Linked DNA regions of Homo sapiens: all the other regions are linked to region 3. Evidence: promoter capture Hi-C in human tissues and cell types (Jung and others, 2019). All regions are on one chromosome and are shown on one strand. The core of a region is centred on a gene start or on the middle of the fragment in contact, and the rest is flanking DNA. Distances in the headings are between cores, read along the strand shown. Region 1 has its middle 110 kb from the start of LINC00485. Region 2 overlaps LINC02456 (long intergenic non-protein coding RNA 2456). Region 3 holds the start of IGF1 (insulin like growth factor 1).

Region 1 (2,700 bases), core at 114-2,613, 240 kb after region 3:
AAACCAATTGACTATAAATGCATGAGTTTATTTCTGGCCTTTATTCTGCTCCATTGGTCCATGTATCTGCTTTTATACCAGTACCATGCTCTTTTGCTTGCTATAGCTTTGTAGTATATTTTGAAGTCAGGTACTGTGATGCCTCCAGCTTTATTCTTGTTTATCAAGGTTGCCGTGTTTATTTGGGATCTTTTGTGGTTCCAGACAAATTTTAGAAATGTTTTTCTATTTCTATGAAAACATCATTGGAATTTTGGTTGCATTGAATGTATTCAACTTTTCACCATTGAATATGATGTTAGCTACAAGTTTGTTGTATTGCCTTTATTGTACTTCTATACCTAATTTGGTAAGAATTTTTATCATGAAAGATGTTGAATTTTGTCAAATGCTTTTCCTGTATCTATTGAGATTATCATATGTTTTTGTCCTTTATTCTATTAATGTGGTGTATATCACATTTATAGGTCTGTGTATGTTGAATCATCCTTGCACCCCTCGGAAAAATTCAACTTGATTATGGTGAATGGTCCTTTTAATATGCTGTGGATTTCAGTTTACTATTATCTATATTCATCAGGGACATAGGCCTGTATTTTTTTTTTTCTTGTAGTGTCCTCATCTGGTTTTAGTATCAGGGTAATGTTGGCCTTGTAAAATGAGGTTGGACATATTCCCTCTTCAAATTTTTGGAAGAATTTTGAGGTGGATTGGTATTCATTCTTCTCTAAAAGTTTTGTGGAATGCAACAGTGAAGCCATCAAGTACTAGGCTTTTCTTTGATGGAAAACTTATTACTGATTCAGTCTTCTTACTCATTATTGATCTGTTCAGATTTTCTTCTATTTCTTCATTATTAATTTTTGGTAGGTTGTGTATATCCAGGAATTTATTCATTTTTCTCTAGGTTATTCAATTTGTCAATGTATAATTATTCATGATAGTCTCATGATCCTTTGCATTTCTGTGATATCCATTGTAATGTCTCCTTTTTGATTTCTGATTTTATTTGAGTTCTCTCATTTTTGTTAATCTAGCTAAAGTTTTACCAATTTTGTTTATCTTTCAGAAAACCAACTCTTAGTCTTGTTGATCTTTTCTATTGCTTTTCTAGTCTCTATTATTTATTTCTACTCTGATCTTATTATTTCCTTCTTTCTACTTACTTTAGGCTTAGTTTGTTCTTCTTTTTCTAGTTTCTTGAGGTATACCATTAGGTTTTTTGGGGGGACTTTCTTTTGTGTTGATGTGGGGATTTATTGCTATAAACTTTGCTCTTAGAACTGCTTATGTTGCATCCCGTAAGTTTTGGTATGTTGTGTTTCCATTTTCATTTGTCTCAGGATATTTTTCAAATTTCCCTTTTAATTTATTCTTCAACTCATGGGTTGTTCAGGAGCATGCTGTTTAATATCCATATATTTGTAGATTTTCTGAAGTTCCTCCTGTTCTTGATTTCTAGTTTCATACCATTATGGTCGTAAAAGGTACTCAATATAATTTCAATCATCTTAAATTTGTTAAGACTTGTTTTGTGGACTAATATATGATCTATCCTGGAGAATGTTTCATGTGCATTTGAGAAGAGTGTGTATTCTGTCTCTGTTAAATGGAATGTCATGTATCTGACTGTAAGGTTTATTTGGTCTGAAATATAGTTCAAGTCCAATATTTCATTATTAATATTTTGTCCGGATGATCTGCCAATTGCTGAAAGTGAGGTATTGAAGTCTTCTACTATTATTGTATTACAATCTGCTCTCCTTTCATGTCTATTAATATTTGCTTTATATGTTTAGGTGCTCCTATGTTGGGTACATATGTATTTACAATTATTATATCCTCTTGATAAATTAGCCCCTTGATATAGTCCAAAACTGATCTCCAATGTTAGCGACGGGGCCCAGTGAGATGTTTGGGACATGGAGGTGGATACCTTATGAATGGTTTGGTGCTGTCCTTGTAGTAATAAGTGAGTTCTTGCTCTATTAGTTCATATAGGAGCTTGTTGTTAAAAAGAGCATGGCACCTCCCCCTTCTCTCTTGCTCCCTCCCTTGCTATGTGACACACTTGCTCCCTTCTGCCTTCTGCCATGATTAAAATTTCTTGAGGCCCTCAACAGAAGCCTTCTTTGCTGGTGCCATGCTTCTTGGGCAGCCTGTAGAGCCAAATAAACCTCTTTTCTTTATAATTTACCCAATCTCAGTTATTCTTTTTTAGCAATGCAAAACAGACTAATACACCCCTTTATCACTATATAATGACCTTCTTTGTTTCTTATTGTAGTTTAAATTTCTCATATAATGATTATTATCTAAGTGTTTTTAATAGTACCTGGAGTATAGTAAGTCCCACACAAATATTAGTTACTGATAGCTATTGTTGCATTATCCATATTTTAATCATTATTCTTCATACATGGTCCTTAGTCTTTTTTCTTGTTATAAAATGAAGGATACAAGATTGTTTTTCTTATGCCATCTTTGGACATTCATCCACCTAGGCTTTGACCATATTAGTATTCATGGCAGACACCGTAGGGTTCCTGGACACATCCTCAGTCACAATTTGCTTTTCCCTGGAAGCTTTCAGAGGTTGGATTAGGAATGCACGTGTGACTCAATAATCTCTAACTCGAAGTTGCTGGATGGGACTTCAGGGAAAATTTTATTCAAAAAACTCGACTCAGAAAGTATGAT
Region 2 (2,700 bases), core at 68-2,567, 160 kb before region 3:
AGGAATGTTGCTGAAGGAGGCTGGGATGAGCTTCCTGTGGTTTCTTAGATGGTCCTTGCTGGGTGGACAGGGTAGGGCATATGGCTCAGGTTGCCAAGATGGTGCTAAATGCCTTAATTTGGTTCAGAATGGTTTGATGGATGCTTTTGATTTTTTTTTTTAATGCTTCTCAGCTTGAAAACATTTCCAGTTTTTGTCCTTTTCATGGGAATTTATTGAACATAAGTAAGTTGGATGTTTTTCTTGTTAACTAGAAGACTTAATCATGTAACATGACAAAGGAAAGAAAGAAAAAGGATTTATGATTCTAAAGAATGGGCAATTCCCTTGAAGGAGTGGGTCATTCAGTGAAGCTGTTTGTTTGGCCTGGGTTTTCTTTAAGTTTATTTTTCTCACTCAGTTGAGATTTTGACTGTTTCTGACTACCTTCCTCAACTCTATCACTCTTTCTATGGCTTGTGGTTGGAAAACAGGGCCATCCAAGTAGCTTGTTGGGTCCCAGGCGAATGCCCTTTGACTCTCAACACCTTTTTAGAAAGGTACATTCTCTTTCAAGGAAAAATGAAGCCATGTAAGGGAAGCTTATGTACAAAATAGGATAATCCAGTTAACTCAGGTTATGGTGATTTGTCCTTTTTGTGTGTTTGTTTCAGCTGTTGCTATTGAAAACTCTTATAGAAGAATTTAGTTATTTCTTAATTTTATTTAGTTAATAATTTTAGTAAATAGATTTACTTTTTCTATGGCAAATGAGAACCTAGCAATACTACAGAATCATAGGACATATACATGTACAAGACACTTATTGATCTTCCCACAACATCTAACATTTCTACATGTTTTGAAATGTTTCTTCAGTAGACGTGTTCTGAAATGTTTTGAAATGTTTCTTCTAAAAACTGTTCACTCCTTTCTCCCTAAATGTGTATTATATGTTGGTATTATACTGGGTGCTCAGAATTATCTTTAAGAATGATGGGGTGTGCCGGGCATGTGGCTCATGCCTGTAATCCCAGTACTTTGGGAGGCTGAGGTGGGTGGATCACCTGAGCCCAGGAGTTCCAGACCACCTTGAGTAACATGGAAACCCTGTCTCTACTAAAAACACAAAAACTAGCCAGGTGCCTGTAGTCCCAGCTACTGGGGAGACAGGCATGAGAATCACTAGAACCCAGGAAGCAGAGGTTGCAGTGAGCCGCGATTGTGCCATTGCACGCCTGGGTGACAGAGTGAGATTCTGTCTCAAAATAAAAATAAAACAAAATAAATAATGATGAGGCCCAATTGGTTTCTCAAGAAGTGCACTTGGTTTCTCAAGTTGCCCACTTGGCCCTCCCGCAAGTTGTACTTTACTTTACTTTTCCTTCCTTTCCTTACTGTTCTAAAGCTTTTAAATAAACTTTCACTCCTGCTCTGAAAAAAAAAAGAATGATGGGAAACACAGGGGCTGCTAAAATCAAGATCAAGTACTGTACCTGGTCTTGGGCTGCTTATAAGCTAGTTGGAAAGAAAAGACACACACTTGGAAAGATAGCTAAAATATGACAAATAGCTAAAATATGACAAGTGTCATGTGAGCAAAACATAGAAAAAAAGGCCATGGAAGTTCAGCAAGGGTATATTCTCTGTGCACAGAACAATCTGATAAGCCTTCTCAGAAGAAATGGAATTGGAGCTGGGATCTGAGGTTTAGATTAGCAGAGACGGCAGTGGGAAGGACATTTCAGGGAGGAAAGAAGCAAAGGCACAGAAATGAAAAAGTAGAATACATGTTTGGGTGGGGCAGGATGATGAAAGCAATGAGAAGATTAATTTGTTTGGAGCAGAAACCCTCCCATCCCCATCACCAATCCTATTAACTCAAAGGTTCATTTAGTTAAAATACAGTAAAGCTTCAGTCCCTTACTTGCCCTTTTGAGTCCCAGTTTCCTTATTTGTAAAACGAGGTTAATCATACCTACCAGCCATAGATTAAATTATTAAATGATTAAATGGATTAAATGAGATAGGATACTAAAAGGAAGGTGTTGAGCAGGGTTCCTCACACTTTATCATCCCTCTTCACTCAATTCATTGCATTCAATTTAATTCCAGTGCTGTCTGTCATACTATCAAGACATCTCCTATGCTACTCCCCCTTGAGGATAATTTAAATTTGACTGTTATTGCATTTCTCTAAACTAGTTTCTATTCACCTTCTGGTTTAGGAGAATTTTCTTGGCATAAGCCATCTGTATATGCAAAGGAGACCAATGTCACATTTGAGGGCTTTAAATAATTCCTCACTAACCAGTTCAGGGTGGCTAGAGTATAACAAGCTAAAAGGGAGTAGTTGGCAATAAGAAAGGTGTCTCAGTTTGTTTTCTCTTGCTATAACAGAATACTTGAAACTGGCTAATTTATAAAGAAAAGGAATTTATTTCCTACAGTTATGGGAGATGAGAGGTCCAGAGTTCAGCAGCTGCATCTGGTAAGAGCCTTTTTTTTTTTTTTTAAGTTTTGATTCTTTTTTTTTTGTTTTTTTGTTTTTTTATTTTATTTTATTTTATTATTATTATACTTTAAGTTTTAGGGTACATGTGCACAATATGCAGGTTAGTTACATATGTATACATGTGCCATGCTGGTGTGCTGCACCCATTAACTCGTCATTTAGCATTAGGTATATCTTCTAATGCTATCCCTCCCCCCTTCCCCCTA
Region 3 (2,700 bases), core at 109-2,608:
GGAACAGCAGAATCAGGTGCCTGACAAGGGTGTATCTTTAACTCCTGGAGCCACTTACTTGACTAGGGAAAGTCGTAGTGGTGAAGTGTTTGAAAGCAGCAACTGAATGCTGCACTAAGTGGCAGAGACGTCTTATGAATTGAGCCCTCAGGCAATTGAATCGGTGGAGCCAGTGACAGCAGCTTAAAAGCGCTTGCAAATTGAAAAAAAAACACAAGTCTTGAAGGATATAATTTTGCTGAGAATGGAAACTAGAACTACGGCCAGCAATCGGAAACGAGAAGTCGGTGCACTGACAGCAGCAGCCAGATTTACCTAAAGGGACTTCACGACACTGAATATAAAATCAGAGTTTTATAACACAGAACCCCAAGTCCAAACTTTGCCCATGAAAGTCCTCTTCTAAACAGAAAAGTTGGGCAAGCAGCTCTTAGAAAGTTTCTGCTTTCCATATACAGTATGTATTTGTTTAAATTATACAAATATGCAAGGTCAGCAAGAGTTGTCAAGGAGTTCTTTTTTGGAAGAACAAATTACACTTTACTCTAACTTTAACACTCTCTCTGGGCATAAGTGCAGAGTTCCGGGACCTTAGCTCCAAAGATCATATTTAAAAGCTTTAATATCATCTAAAATACAACCCTTCATATATAGCATGCCTTGTAAATAAAGTCCTGATGAGTTACACACACAGAGACACATACACACAGAGACACATACACACATGCAAAAGAACATGGTCTTAAAAATAAAACATCTGCACCTGCAAAAGAAAAAAAAAATCCCCAAGTTCATATCCATGCTCTATAGCCCTTAGCCATAGAGAGGATTTAAAGGAATCTTCTGTAATGACACCACGGAAGCCCTGCAGAAGTGGAGGATTTAGCATAAGTACCTTGCAATAGTTTCTACTCATACAGATATCTGTGCAAATGCATCCATCTCCCCGAGCTATTTTTCAGATTCCACAGAATTGCATATTCAGCAATTTATAAATAACTCTCGGTTCCGAAACAATGAAAATTTTAAAGTGAAGAACAGTTCTAGGCAGAAGCAAACAGTACACAATTTAAATAGAATTCCCCAATGACTTCAAAGAGTAAGAAATATTTACCTTCAAGAAATCACAAAAGCAGCACTTAAATAATTGGGTTGGAAGACTGCTGATTTTTCCCATTGCTTCTGAAGTACAAAGTCTGAAAATGAATTGGTTAGCAGGAATAATGAAGCAAAAAGAAATCCAGAGAGATGGGAGATGTTGAGAGCAATGTCACATTTCAATTTTGAGGACTTTATTCCATTGCGCAGGCTCTATCTGCTCTGAATTTAGCAGTGACAGTGAGATTTAGCAAACAGAAGAGGGATTTAGAGAAAATCCTCACATTTATCTACAAAACACAGACACTGTAGACAGGAAACAGCTGGGGGAACATTTGCCTTCTCTCTCTCTCCCTCTTCTGGCAAAGTTATTGAGTAAGGACTTTTTTGGGCATGGTGACAAATAACATCATACCTTTGCATTTTAAAACTAGAGCACAGAAGCATTTTTTTCCCTTAAAAGAATGTGTGTTAGTGACAGGGTTCGCAGACATTAAAATACTTATGCTGCCATAGAAAATAAGGATCTGTTTTCTGATTAACTTTCTGCTGGGCATGAAGACACAAACGTCTGCTAATACACCTTACCAGTATTAAAGGAATATGGGGGATGGGAGAGCAATTTTAGATTCTAGAGCAAATGCATTATTTAAAACAAAAAAAGAAAGAAAGGACGATAAGACCCTCTCCAGCAAACTCTACAATTTTAACCCTGAAGTGACTGGGGTAAAGTAGATTGGAAGACAGCACTCGGGTGACCCCTTGTCCCAGTTGCCAAGTGAGAGGTGTGATCTCATTTCCTAGAACCTATGGAGGGGCAGGCAGCATTGGATTGGTCCCTTTAGGGCACTGTCTCATACTTTTTCTCCTGCGATGAGGCAAAGACTATGCCGAGCTGTAAAACCCAACTGAAATAGAACATTTTTCTTTATTCTTCTACTAGGCTGCCTGTCACTGTCCCCTCCCCACCCCACCACTCTGGGAGAAGGGTACCTGGGGGGCAAACAATTTTCCTGTTGTTTGAATTTTCCATATAACTCAAACCTGTGTGTGTGTGTGTGTGTGTGTGTGTGTGTGTGTGTGTGTATGACAGAGGGAGTCTGTGTGCCAGAGTGTGTTTTCTTTCTCTGATTTTTGTGTATTCTAAATAACACCAGCTGGCTAGCAATACCCTCTCGAGGGTTATGATGTCATTCAAATCCCTCAACTGGGTGACTGGCCGGCAACATGGTCCAAGCCAGCTGTTTTGCTATTTATAATGTACACTTGCCTTTGCCATTGAGAATTCAGTTCTGATCTTTTGTCGATACAGTTTGTACCTATTTCCCTTTGGTTTTGTGAAGCAGTAGATAAGAAAGTGAATTATAAAATAAGGTTGCAAAAGCCCAGAGCAGACATACCTCTTTCCCTAGAGAGCTCTCCAGGCCTGGTTTCCCAGGAGTGGTGGAAATAACCTGGACCTTGAATTTTTTCTTTTTTTTTTTTTCCACATGACTCTCAGGGGACTGACACATCAACTGAAAACACAGTTCTGCTTGAAATCCTACTCTGGCTCTTTGTGTTATCCTGGGGCCAGAAATTTGTTTGTAGAAGTGGGTGCCC

What was found. The method cuts DNA at HindIII sites, captures the fragments that hold promoters and counts their contacts. A contact is called where the count stands out against the background at its distance.
Region 1: a contact is called between a fragment that was not itself captured here and the fragment with the promoter of IGF1 in region 3, in 1 of the 25 tissues and cell types used here (H1 embryonic stem cells).
Region 2: a fragment that was not itself captured here is called in contact with the fragment with the promoter of IGF1 in region 3 in 1 of the 25 tissues and cell types used here (liver).

Annotation. Positions count from the first base shown.
Region 1 is chr12:102,716,351-102,719,050 of GRCh38, forward strand. No RefSeq gene overlaps it. Among named protein-coding and RNA genes, the nearest start is that of LINC00485, 110 kb to the right of the region's middle. The HindIII fragment of the contact is 4,641 bases long and covers 1-2,700 here.
Region 2 is chr12:102,322,408-102,325,107 of GRCh38, forward strand. The region is part of intron 5 of LINC02456 (long intergenic non-protein coding RNA 2456); the gene reads left to right. Among named protein-coding and RNA genes, the nearest start is that of LINC02456, 44 kb to the left of the region's middle. RefSeq lists an enhancer at 1-551. The HindIII fragment of the contact is 4,745 bases long and covers 1-2,700 here.
Region 3 is chr12:102,479,205-102,481,904 of GRCh38, forward strand. It overlaps IGF1 (insulin like growth factor 1), which reads right to left and starts at 1,359. Exons shown (of 4, transcript NM_000618.5): 1 at 1,115-1,359. The coding sequence starts at 1,177. LINC02456 (long intergenic non-protein coding RNA 2456) reads left to right here. Exons shown (of 13, transcript XR_007063427.1): 11 at 1-2,700. RefSeq lists enhancers at 1-74, 165-214. The HindIII fragment of the contact is 12,796 bases long and covers 1-2,700 here.